Linked DNA regions of Homo sapiens: region 2 is linked to region 1. The links are contacts of gene promoters, found by promoter capture Hi-C in human tissues and cell types (Jung and others, 2019). All regions are on one chromosome and are shown on one strand. The core of a region is centred on a gene start or on the middle of the fragment in contact, and the rest is flanking DNA. Distances in the headings are between cores, read along the strand shown.

Region 1 (6,689 bases), core at 1,122-3,621:
GGGTTCACACCATTCTGCTTCAGCCTCCCGAGTAGCTGGGACTCTAGGTGCCCGCCACCATGCCCGGCTAATTTTTTTGTATTCTTAGTACAGACGGGGTTTCACCGTGTTAGCCAGGATGGTCTCGATCTCCTGACCTTGTGATCCGCCTGCCTCGGCCTCCCAAAGTGCTGGGATTACAGGCGTGAGCCACCGCGCCCGGCCGAGGATATTCTTTAAAACAAGGAAATGGTCACTTAAAGTGAAAAAGGCAATTTACAAAGTACATTTTTTTTTTTCTTTTTTGAGACAGTATTGCTCTGTCATGCAGGCTGGAGTGCAGTGGTGCGATCTCGGCTCACTGCAAACTCCATCTCCCAGGTTCAAGCGATTCTCCTACCTCAGCCTCCTAGGAGCTGGGATTACAGGCGCTAGCCACCACGCACGGCTAATTTTTGTCTTTTTAGTAGAGATGGGGTTTCACCATGTTATCCAGGCGGGTCTCAAACTCCTGAACTCAAGTAAGCCACCTCCATCGGCCTCCCCAAATGCTCGGATTACAGGCGTGAGCCACCACACCCTACCAAATACTATATTTCAGAAGAATTCAGGGAGTGGAAATGCACATACCAAAGAGGGCAGTTGTGGATCCAATAGCCCTGCCTCCAATTCTCACAATTTCCAGATTCAATCTTAATTCCCATTCCCTCATCCCAAGAGAAGTAGAGAAAGACCAGTAGAGCTGGAATAATGACAGGTGGAAATAACTCAGAAGCCACTCAAGGCAAAAAGCATGCAGAGGGGCCTAAGGGAGCCAATAGGATTCCAATTCTGGTTACAGAAAAATCCAAGTCAAAATCACTCTTTGACAATCTAAAGGAATGAGATATTAATTATGTTCCCCTGGGGTTGTGAAAAACAGCCCTGCCTTTTGGAGATTAGAAGTGAAGCAGGTAAGAACCATATCTAAAGCAGGAGAAGAAGCTTCCCTCAGTAGGTGGTTGATAGGGGTCTGGGAATCATCCAAGTTAATCAGGGTGACTATAGATAATCCGAGTGTGTTATATCCTGACAGAAAACAAAGGGTGGATGTGCATTGGCAAAAACAAAATAAGAAACCAATTTGCAGGCATGAGTGGACCAGTACCCAGGACTCTCTTCCAGTAGCCTACAGTAGATAGAGGGCTCTGACTTATCGGAGAAGTCCTGCTTGGCTGGAGAAGGGCATCAAGCTGTTTATCAGCGCCTCATGCCCTTAACAGTTAAGACCATCCAACTAACCTGGCTGTTACTCCATGAATCTCGTGCAGCTTTCTGAAAATCATGGGGTCTCTGCGGACTTTCCTGCAGAAAGAGAGCCCACTGATTCCACTACCTAGATAAAGGCGTGGTGGTGGGCCCCTGTAATCCCAACTACTCGGTGTAAGAATTAAAGAAAGAGGAAAGAAACACGAAAAGTGGCTTGGTGGTCATAAGAGGTTTATTTTAGAGAAAACCTGAGAGGGGCGTCTGGCCAAGTTAGGTCAGAGGCACACTCTCTTACAGACTAAGTAAGTTTTTAAGGATTCGGAGTGGGAGAGTTTATCAGAGGCTTGGACTGCTTCTGTGTCTCTTTGTTGTGCTTATCTCGGAGGGAGAGTTGTGTGTCTGTTCCCATACATCTTTCTGCAGCTGCAGACATACCCCCTGAGTCTAATTTTTGTATTTTTAGTAGAGAGGGGTTTCACCATGTTGGCCAGGCTGGTCTCGAACTCCTGACCTCAGGTGATCCTCCCGCCTCGGTCTCCCAAATTTCTGGGATTACAGGCGTGAGCCATCTGCGCCCTGCCTAAACTGTTCGGGTTCTAACATTCCAGCATCCTCCTGCGGAACGCAGCCAGGCCTTACTCAGGCCTTCCAATCAGGACCCTTACAGTTCCTGGGGCTGGGATTGCGAGTCTCTCTGGGGCCACGCTTTCTAAGCGTATCACTTCCAGGATACGTGCCTCCAACAGAAGGAATGAAGGCTAGGAAACAAAAACGTGGATGCGGGTGAGGAGCTGTCAGTGTTACCGCCACGACAACGTGGACCCTGCGAAACTCGGAGGTGCCACTCAAGAGCCGAAAGCCTGCCCACTCGGGGTGGGGCGGCAACCCGGAGAGCCAATCAGGAATAAGGAGTCCGGTTCATGAAAAGGTAGCCGGATTCTGACTGGGATACTCACTGTGAGAAGGCTGGGCGGAGTTGCAGAAAGTCAACAGAAGCCGAATCTCTGAATTTCTGTTCGCAGCCTCCTAGGCGGGGCCGGGAAAAAAATCCAGTAGTCTGCGCTGACTGGGCGGCGAGGGACCGGGAGGAGCCAATCAGAAGTCAGGACTCGCGGGGCTTGGAGGAGGGGCGCGGGCGCTGCGGCCCCTGCTCTACCTCCTAGCGCCGGTGCGCGGCCGAGGCCGCACTACCTGTCTGCGGGAAAGCGGGATCCACCCCAGGACGTCGGGTCGCTGCCGGTGAGCCAAGGAGGGGGAAGCAGAGACGAGCCCTGCGTCCCCGCTGCGGGAGTCGGGGTCGCCCCCGAGGGCAGGGAGGCTCGCTGCAAGTGTGGAGCCGGGAGTCCTATGCCTCAGGCTCCTCCAGCCCGCGCTATCCTCAGCTCGCTGCGTGCGTGATGGGCAAGTCACCCTTCTTCCCGGACCTCACCTGTAACCTAGGAGGGCTGAGCTGGGCCCCCAGAATGAAAGCGTGGCACCCGAGAAGCTGTCGAGGCCAGCCCTCCCGGGTCTGTGTGGGGTCGCTGGCCGAGGGCTGTGCCGGCGCCTGGCCGGTGTCTACTGGGAGCAGTCTCTGAGCTCCGCTGAACCTCACTTACTCATGCGCCCTCCTCCTCTCTTTTCCTGCCTCTTGGTTCAGCAGCCCCTCTGCAGCCCGCTCACCCACCACTTTTTCCCCTTCACCCACCAGGAAGACCCTTAAAAGCACCTAGTAATGCACTGTTGTCTTTGAAAAACTGCAGATGCTAGATTCCCCACCTTTCTGTTTCATGATCCCCTTGGGGTTGAACTGCCCCGTGAGTCTGTGGAATGAAGGTCACCCTTGGTTCACCATTTAATATTAAATAAGGGACTAGCCTAGGGGCTGAGAATACAGAGATTGACTGGGTATAATCCCTTGGAAGGACGCAGCAAAAGGGAATGTAGGAGAAGAAAGGTAGAGTTGGAAGACATGCTAAGGTAGAATTTACTAGACTTTGTTACACGTTGGGAGTGAGGGACAGGAAAGAATCAAGAATGACTCCTGTTTCTTGTCTGGTATACTTTGCACAAAGTACAGAGCTTAAGTTCCAGCCCCCTCCCGGCTGCAGGACAAAGGTGGTGAGATTCTGACGCAGATCTTGGAGTTGGAAATCACACTTGCTTCCTGCGGGCTTTTTCAGGAGCTAAATACTGTTGGCCGGATATATAGACCAACAGCCTATAGTACCTGAATTCCTCCTCTCCCTTTCAATGAAGTAGGAAAAAAAGTTAATAATTTTTAAAAATGTGTGAGTGGGCAACATAGCGAGACACTGTCTCTAAAAAAATAAAAATAATAAAATCAAAAAGACAGCCATGATGGCTTGCACCTGTAATCCCAGCACTTTGGGAGACCAAGGTAGGAGGATTGCTTGAGCCCAGAAGTTCGAGACCAGCCTGGGCAACATAGTGGGACCCTCTCTCTCCAAAAAAAAAAAAAAAAAAAAGGCCAGGCATGGTGGCACCTGCCTGCAGTCCCAGCTATTTGGGAAGCTCAGGTGGGAGGATCCCTTGAGCCCAGGAGTTGGAAGCTGCAGTAAGCAGTGATTGTGCCACTGTACTCCAGACTGGGTGACAGAGACCTTGTCTCAAAAACAAAAAAAAAAAAATTCCCCTCCATACAAAGGAGACATTTGGTTAAGACAGACATGTCTGATAAACATATTTTTTTCTTTGTTTTTATTTACTCTCAAGAGTTGACTTGATCTGTGCCATTAGTTCTATGATATGGAGCGCTTATATAAAGAAAAAAGGCGAACTTAAAGAACTTTAGTGGCATGGAATACTAGAGCTAGAGGAGACTTTTAGTAATAATCTAATCCAACTCTGTTTTAGAGGAGACATGACTAGTCCAGAGTTTCAGAGGTTAGGTAGCAGAACTGGGACTAAAATATGTCCTATTTCTCCCAGCACAGCCTTTTATTACATCAGTCTATTTGGATGGCCAGAGCTAACAACCTTGCTTTACATGGCTATGGAAAACAGCGCTCTCCTAAGAGGAGCTTAACAAGTCAAAGATTGTATGGGAACATCTGGAATAGAAAGGAGATTGGCCTTCACCAGTTGCCTCTAAGGTTCCTTACAACTTTAAGAACTTATCATTCATTTCAAATTCAGAATTGTTCTGACATCGTTAACGCTTTGGGAGTTGAAAATGACTCCAGGATTTCATCTTGGAGTTAATGCTTCAGTCCATATTGCATTTTGAATACTTACCTTATACCAGTTTACATATCTCCAGAAAGAATGTTAAAATTCCTTGTAAAGTTTTAAGCCTAAATACAGTGTGACAGGATATGTTGGTTCCCAGAAGTTTCAAGTGCAAAGATTGTTTTGAAACTCCATTTAGGCTTTGTCACAGTACCTTCAGTGAACAAAATCTGAACGGCTTAACTTGCTTCTGAAAGCAAATGCCTGGTTAGAAAGTAAACAGGAAACATGATTGTCAAGAAGGCATTAACTTGCAGTAACAGGTGATGGAAACCGATCAGTGGCACAAGCTATGCAAGTTAAGAGGCTGGAGCAATCACTTTGGGTAGGAGGATCAGGGAAGGCCATGGCAGGGGCTAGGGGGTGGTTAGCGTTTGAGGGTTACCTCTCCCTTATTTTCTCTTCTCTTTTTTTTTCTTTCTTTCTTTTCTTTCTTTCTCTCTCTCTCTTTCTTCTTTCTTTTCTTTCTTTCTTTCTTTCTTCTTTCTCTTGCTCTCTCTTCTCTCTTTTCTTTCTTTTCTTTACTTTTCTTTCTTTTTGATGGAATTTTGGTCTTTCGCCCAGGTTGGAGTGAAGTGACGCAGTCTCATCTCACTGCAACCTCCACCCCTCTGGGTTCCAGTGATTCTCCTGCCGCAGCCTCCTGAGTAGCTGGAATTATAGGCGCCGGCCACCATGCCCGGCTAATTTTTTTTTTATTTTTATTTTTATTTTTAGTAGAGATGGGGTTTCGCCATGTTGGCCAGGCTGGTCTCAAACTCCTGACCTCAGGTGATCCACCCACCTCAGCCTCCCAAAGTGGTGGGATTACAGGCGTGAACCACTGTCTTTACCTACCCTTATTTTAACTTGAGTCATCAGGCCATAGTCCTAGGACTGAGGCAGGGAGGGGGTCATATAGGAGATTTCTGGTATATCTCCCTGAATGTTATCCCCTTTCCCTCACTGGAGTTAGGTGGGTTTTTGCTATGATACAGCCAAATAAATTAGGCATTAACAGGCATATGGTCTGATTTTTAGAGTTCCAAGAAAGTCCTAAGATCCACCTCCTCTGTCCTAGCCAATTTCTCAGAAGCGCTCTTTCTTTTTTAGAGGTAAATTTTACATTCAGTGATATTCACAGATCTTACTAGTTTACTTAGGTTTTAAGTTAAGTTTTGACAAATGTAAGCCATGTCGCCAAAGCCTAATCAAGATGTAGAACACTTGCCTCTCAGAAAGTTCTCTCATGCCCCTTCCCTGTCAGAAGCAATACATCTTCCACTTTCCACAAAAGCTAACTCTTCATGAGATTCTTTTTTTTTTTTTTTTTTTTTTTTTTAAATAGAGAAGCGGGTCTCATTATGTTGCCCAGACTAGTCTCGAACTCCTAGCCTTGAGTGTTCTCCCACCTTGGCTTCCCAAAGTGCTGGCTGGGATTACAGGTATGAGCCACTGTGCCCAGCCCATAAGATTATTTTTATATAGTACTGTATCCCCTGAACAGCAATCAAAACATACCCTAAAATGCAGCTCACCCTCACGATGTTATCAATTATTTACAACTTAGTATGAAAGAAGGATTAGAATAAAACTATTTTGGGAAAACAGCATGAGATTCTAACGACCTTAAATATTTGGTTCCTGAAGCATGTTCAGAAGACCTACATTGTCTTTCATATGTAGCTGGATGCTCAGAAAATATACCAGGTGTGGGTAGCAGAGGGTGGAATTACCAAGAGAAAGAAAACAGTCTCCTCCCCCGCCCATGTATCCAAATCATACTTAAAAATTCAAGGCCCAGCGTGGTGGCTCATGCCTGTAATCCCAGCACTTTGGGATTACAAAGCAGAGGCAGGCAGATCACTTAAGCCCAGAAATTCAAGACCAGCCTGGCCAACATGGTGAAAGCCTGTCTCTGCAAAAAATACAAAAAATTAGCCTGATATGGTGGCTTCTGTAGTCCCAGCCACCTAGGAGGCTGAGGTTCAGGATCATTGAGCCTGGTGGTTGAGGCTGCAGTGAGTTGTAGTCATGCTATTGCACTCCAGCCTGGGCGACAGAGCAAGACCCTGTCTGAAAAAAATAAAAAAAAAAAAATCAATTCAGGCCAGGTCCAGTGGCTCACACCTGTAATCCCAGCACTTTGGGAGGCGTAAGTGGGAGGATCGCTTGAGACCAGGAGTTTGAGACCAACCTGGGCAACAAAGTGAGACCCCCATCTCTATCTTTAAAGATAAAAATTCAAATCT
Region 2 (6,689 bases), core at 1,660-4,159, 180 kb after region 1:
ACGTGTGGAATTGCAGAGGCAGGACCACAATTAGCTAGATCTGAAGAGGCAGGGGACCCAGCTGCCATCTGGGCTCTGAGTAGAAAAAGAGAAATCAGAGCCTTATAGAAAAGACATCTGTACCTTGTTCTGCAGACAGACTTCCTGCTATGATGCACCTCCTTATTTTTTGCATACGGAGCAGGCTTGACATTTATGTAGATTGATTCCAACTTGGCATTTTGACCAAAGGCGCTATTAACCCTTTCCCTCCCGTCCTGGGGGAAAAATGGCTTGTGGGGCCTGACCCACAAGTGACCCCATCAGGCTGTTCCGGCCCTTTTCTGGCCTAGTCTCTGGCTGGGAATGGATGGCTTCTTTATGACCCTGAGGAGGTATGGCCAACAGGAAGCACAGTCGCTCTCTTCTGAGCTCATTTTTCACCCTGGCTGGTTTTGCTGGAGATGCAACCAAAGCTAAATCTCAATTTTGGGGGCAGGAGGAGCCGTCGGTGGAGTCATCTGCACCTGGGCTGTTAGATAAAACCTCCATGCAGCCTCTAGAAGCCAAACTCAAGATTTAAAGGGGAAGAGCTTTATTTTGTTGACAATTGCTTTACAATTCACTTAGTAACACGCCACGTCTTCGTACAGAGGTATGCACTTTCACACTGCTGCTCCATCCGATCCTAGTTACATCCCTAAAAGGGGACAGGCATGTGTCAGGATCCTCTTTTCACTCTGAGGATACTGAAGCCCAGAGAGGTCAAGCCAGTTGCCCTACTTTGCACAGCTGTTCAATGGTCAAGTCAGTGGTTTTAGCCTCTGACAATCCAGCGGCCTTTCTATTACACCGCACTGCCTTTCATGCAGATTTAGAGGGAAACAGAAAGAATCTGTGCTCCAGTGCACCGTCTCCCCGTAGGACTGTGAGCTGCTCAAGGCAGGGTGGTAATGGAGTCACATCTGGGCAGCATGACGTGGAGCACCACTGATATTTGGGAGTCCATTTGGGACTGGATAATTTTTTGTTTTACAGACATTTAAACGAGTCTGCCTTTAGCATTCCTGGACCCTGGTCACTAAACCCCAACAGTGCCTCCTCATTCTTATAAAACCCTCCTCCCCACAAAAAAAAAAGCCCCAGACATTTCCAAATCTCCCAGGGTGGAGGGAACAGAGTGGAGTAGAAGTGGGCAGTACCACCCTTGGTTGAGAACCCAGTCTTTGGAATAAGATGGCTGAGGTTTCAAACCTTGTCTCTGCTCTCCCTAGCAGGGTGACCTCGGAGGTCTGGCTTCCTGATTCAGAACATTTACCCCAGAGAGTAATCAGGAAGATGAAACGAGCTAATGGACCCAAAGCACGAAGCTCCATGCCAACATGAGATGTTTTGATCAAGTAACTAATAAAAATAACAAATGAAATCCTGTCGCATTAAGAGTTGGCCCTAGTATGTTTACAGTAGGTGTTCCATAAATGTGGCTTTCTTCTTCTGCATTCTCAGCATCTACCTCAACAACCACATCAACAAAAACAAACATTTATTGGCTTACTTTTTATACATAAAGCATTTAGCAAAGAATTTGACACATTGCCCCATTTATTCCCACAACAGCCCTATGAGGTAGTTATATTATTGTCCCTATCTTACAAATGTGGGAACTGAGAGCAGAGATTGATTAACTGTAGCCTGTGGGCCAAATCCAGCCACTGCCCGTTGTTACTGGAACATAGCCTTGTTCATTCATTCATGTGTTGTCTATGGCTGCTGCCATTTACATTGAGTAGTTGCTTGCAGCAGAAACCATATATGGCCTGCATAGCCTAAAATATTCAGTGTCTAACCCTTTATAGGAAGAGTTTACTGACTTCTACTCTAGAAGGTTAATTTATAAGGTGACAAAACTAGTTATGGTGGAGGCATGAGTCCAACTCCGTTCAGTTTGATTCCAAAGCTCAGGCTCTTGGTTGTCACATACTCCCACTGGAGGCGGTGGATTTTCATTAAGTGGTCGTTAGACACTGAAATCGTAAAACATTTATTTTAAAATAGATTATGTTATATATTTGGTTTTTATTGTGGTAAAATGTCTGTAATGTAAAACATACCATTTAACCATTTTTAAGTGTACAGTTCACTGCCATTAAGTGCATTCACAATGCTGTACAACCATCACCATTATCCATTTCCAGAACTTTTTCATCATTCCAGACAGAAACGCTGTAGCCATTCCACAGTAACTCCCCATTCCCTCTCCCCCAGCCCCTAATAATCACTATTCTACTTTTGTCTCTGTGAATTTGCCTATTTTAGGTACCTAATGTAAGTGGACTCATAAAGATTTGTCTTTTTGTCTCTTATTCCATTTAGCATGTTTTCCAGGTTCATCTATGTTGTAAGATGTATCAGAATTTTATTCCTTTTTAAGGCAGAATAATGTCCCATTGTGTGTAGTGTCAGATGTTCCTCCATTTACTGTGGAGTTACTTCCCAATAAACCCACTGTAAAAGAAAAATATTGTAAGTCACAAATGCAATTAATACACCCAACTTACTGAACCTCATAGCTTAGCCCAGCCCACATTAAACATGGTCAGAACACTTACATTAGCCTACAGCTGGGCAATATCATCTAACACGAAGCCTATATTATAATCAGATGTTGACTATCTCATGTAATTTATTGAATACTGAAAGTGAAAATCAGAATGGTTATATGTGTACTTGAAGTACAGTTCCTGTTGAATGTGTATCACTTTTGCACCATTGTAAAGTCAAAAAATATTAATTCAAACCATTGTGGGGCAGGGCATGTTGGCTCACGCCTGTAATCCCAGCACTTTGGGAAGCCAAGGCAGGTGAGTCACCTGAGGTCAGGAGTTCAAGACCAGCCTGACCAATGTGGTGAAACCCCGTCTCTACTAAATACAAAAAATTAGCCATGGGTGGTGGTACATGCCTATAATCCCAGCTACTTGGGAGGCTGAGGCAGGAGAATCACTTGAACCTGAGAGGCAGAGATTGCATTGAGCCAAGATTGTGCCATTTACTCCAGCCTGAGCAACAAGAGCAAAACTTCATCTCAAAAAAAAAAAAAAAAAATACAACATCATAAGCTGGGGACCATCTGTGTTTGTTTTTGAATAGATAGTACATGCATAGAGTACAAAATTCAAAAGATGCAAAGGACCTAGAGTGAAGAGTGAATCTCTCTCCTATCCCTTCCCCCTCCAGGCCCCAGCTCCCCTCCCAAGAGACAACCAGTGTTACTGCATTCTTGTGTATCTTTTCTGAGAGGGTCTAAGCATGCTCAGCATCTAGGTTTCAATAGTATTTTTAAATATATTTTCACACAAGTATTACTACACCTGGCATATTGTTCCTGCATCTTTCTGATAACCTTTTTCTTTCTTGAGACAGGGTTTTGCTCTGTCACCAAGGCTGCAGTGTAGTGACACAATCATAGCTCACTGCAGCCTCGACCTCACCTACTCAAGCAATCCTCCCACCTCAGCCTCCCAAGTAGCTGAGAACACAAGTGTGTGCCATCACACCCGACTAATTTTTTTGCTTTTGTAGAGATGTGGTCTCACTATGTTGCCCAGGCTGGTCTCAAACTCCTGAGCTCAAGCCATCCTTCTGCCTGAGCTTCCCAAAGTGCTGGGATTGCAGGTGTGAGCCACTGTGCCTGGTGGCTCACACATTAAGTATTCTTAATAATATGTCTTGCAGATTGTTTTGTATCATTATATCTAGAGCTATCTCACTCAACAACTGCATATAATCCCACTGCATGAATGTATCATGATTTATTTATCTGGTCATTATAAGTAGACATTTAGGTTGTTTTTAATCTTTTTCAGTTATGAACAGCTCTATAGTGAATGTTCTTTTCATTTTTTGTTGTTTTTGAGATGGAGTTTCACTCTGTCGCCCAGGCTGGGGTGCAGTGGCATGATCTCAGCTTGCTGCAACTTTTGCCTCCTGGGTTCAAGCGATTCTCCTGCCTCAGCCTCCTGAGTTGCTGGGACTACAGGTGCGTGCCACCACTCCCAGCTAATTTTTTATTTTTAGTAGAGACGGGGTTTCACCATGTTGGCCAGGCTGGTCTCGAACTCCTGACCTCAGGTCATCTGCCCACCTTAGCCTCCCAAAGTGCTGGGATTACAGGTGTGAGCCACTGCGCCTGGCCTCTTGTCATGTTTTTAAGATTAGTTCTTAAAGCCAGTGTAGTAGAAGATGAAGCATGTTTCTCACCCTCTCCATGTTGGACTGCATTTTTCAGGGAAATTGTGCTATCTGGAGAACCATATTTGGCTCAGAGGATCAGGAGTGCTTGGATCCTACCCTGGTCTAACTCCTCCCTTCCCCACATCTGGGCCAATGAGAGATGGAGGAAAAAAAGCAAGGAACAACTCATTCTTGGGCTGAAAGCCTAAGGATGTGGTCATTGGAGGACAAAAAGCAAGGAACAACTCATTCTTAGAGGGGCTGAAAGCCTAAGGCCATGCTCATTGGAGGACAACCCTTCCTCTAACCCAGAGTTTCTCTTTGACTTTTTTCTTTTCTTTTTTTTTTTTTGAGACTTAAGTCTTGCTTTGTCACCCAGGCTGGAGTGCAAGGGTGCAATCTCAGCTCACTGCAATCTCCGGCTCTCGGGTTCAAGTGATTCTTGTACCTCAGCCTCCTAGGTAGCTGGGACTATGGGCACCTGCCACCACACTTGGCTAATTTTTGTATTTTTGGTAGAGATGGGGTTTTACCATGTTGGCCAGGCTGGTCTCAAACTCTTGACCTCAGGTGATTTGCCTGCCTCAGCCTCCCAAAGTGCTGGGATTACAGGCATGAGCCACCGCACCTGGCCTCTCTGACATTTTGGACTAGATAGACCTTTTTTCTATCTAGTTCTTTACCTCAATGTAGAGGTCACAATGTCAGGCTAAGGCTTTCTAATAAAGCTTCTGGTTGTCATGTAGTGGGAGAGAGGAGAGCTGAAATCAGTATTGTGAGATATGGCTGAAATGTCTGCTGTAGCTCCAGGTGAGAGAGGCCCAAGACCTAGCATGGGAACAAAACCTCCCAAGATCTGGCAAGCCAAGCAAGTTTCTGCTTTCTTGATGTTCCTCTCTGATGCATAAAGATCACAGCTTTTGCCAGCCAAGGTGGCTCATGCCTGTAATCCCAGTACTTTGGGAGGCTGGGGCAGGAGGATTGCTTGAGCCCAGGAGTTTTGGACCAACCTGGGCAACATGGCTAGACCCCATCTCTACAGTAAAAAAATACAAAAATTAGCCAGGCATGATGGCGTGCACCTATAGTCCCAGCTACTCGGGAGGGTGAGGTGGGAGGATTGCTTGATCCTGGGAGGCAGAAGTTGCGGTGAGCTGAGATCACACCACTGCACTCCAGCCTGGGAGACAAAGTGAGACCCTGTCTCAACAAAACAAAAGAAAACACCTTTGAAAAGAGATGGGGTAAAAAAGATCACAGAACAAAGAGTTAAAAAAAAAAAACAGATTGTTCTTTAATTAAGAACAACTAGGGCTGGGCAGAATTGAAGCTGTTTCCCCTGCCAGATGATTGGACACCTTGCCTTTTAGGAGCAGGGTCTGGATGGGAGTGGGGGAAAAGCTTCCTTCAAAACCAACTTTCAGAGAGTTGGATGCTTTTTGGAGAGGACTGAATTTGGATTAGGCATTCATATTTATTTCTGCCCTTTGCAGTCATGTCATGCAAGCTAAATCGTTTCTTAAAACCAGTATTTCCACCCCTTCCAAAAGGAACTTTATCATGTAAACTGAGCGCCTGCAATCCAACCCTATAATGACTTGATTCGTCCTGGGAAAGCTCCTGCCTTTAATCCTTTTCTCCCTCATCTCCTGGTGCCAGGAAGGGCCCCCACAGGACCCTCCCAGGTCTGGAGGTGTTCCTCACTGTCACTCTCTCCTCCTCACATCACCTGCTGGCCCCGAGGCCTTCTCAGTGATGGGGAGGGTTTGGCTAGAGCCTTAGCGGGAGGAAGCCAGGAGATGCTTCCCTAGGTCAATCCCTGGGCAGGCCCCACTTCCTTCATTTCCTCATTCGTTCATCCAGTTAACACATGCTTAGTGCTTCTCATATGCCAAGCACTGTGCTCTGCACTTCACTCTGTGAGCTCTGATAATAGGGACTAGTATTAGTTTTCATTTATGGATGAGGAAATCAAGGCTCAGAGGGGTTAAGTCACTTGCCTGAGACCACATGGTTAATGAGTGGCTTTGCTGTACTGGGGACCTAGAGTCTGAATCCAGCCAAGCGACTTCCAATGCCAAGCTCACACCAGATCCACACTCGGAGCAGAGGAAGCCACATTGCAGCGGAAAACAAGGGCTTCCTGGAAGTGGTATGTGGCCTGAGGCCAGGAAAGACCAGGCTGGGAGAGGGCTACTGACTGCTTACTGTAATCAGCTTCAGATTTTCGGCATCAACAAGGCAGAACCCCAGTGAGACAGGCCAGGGTGACAGGAGGCTCTTTGGTGACCCTGGATGGGCTCTGCTCATGGGGATTTGATCCCACCATTAGTTTTTGAGCTCTTGCCACATGCCAGACACAGGCCCTGCCCCAGGAATCCCACATATTATCATGTGCCATGGCCTGGGTCTCGGCTATGGCTTCAGTGGCTCATGTTCCCCTCTTCCTGGACACCCATCTTGGACGATCCTACAGC

Evidence for each region. Contacts are between HindIII fragments. The study calls those that stand out against the background at their distance.
Region 2: a contact is called between a fragment that was not itself captured here and the fragment with the promoter of HYKK in region 1, in 1 of the 25 tissues and cell types used here (pancreas).

The regions. Positions count from the first base shown.
Region 1 is chr15:78,505,206-78,511,894 of GRCh38, forward strand. It overlaps HYKK (hydroxylysine kinase), which reads left to right and starts at 2,372. Exons shown (of 5, transcript NM_001013619.4): 1 at 2,372-2,466. The HindIII fragment of the contact is 18,918 bases long and covers 1-6,689 here.
Region 2 is chr15:78,685,397-78,692,085 of GRCh38, forward strand. No RefSeq gene overlaps it. Among named protein-coding and RNA genes, the nearest start is that of CHRNB4, 48 kb to the left of the region's middle. The HindIII fragment of the contact is 4,734 bases long and covers 543-5,276 here.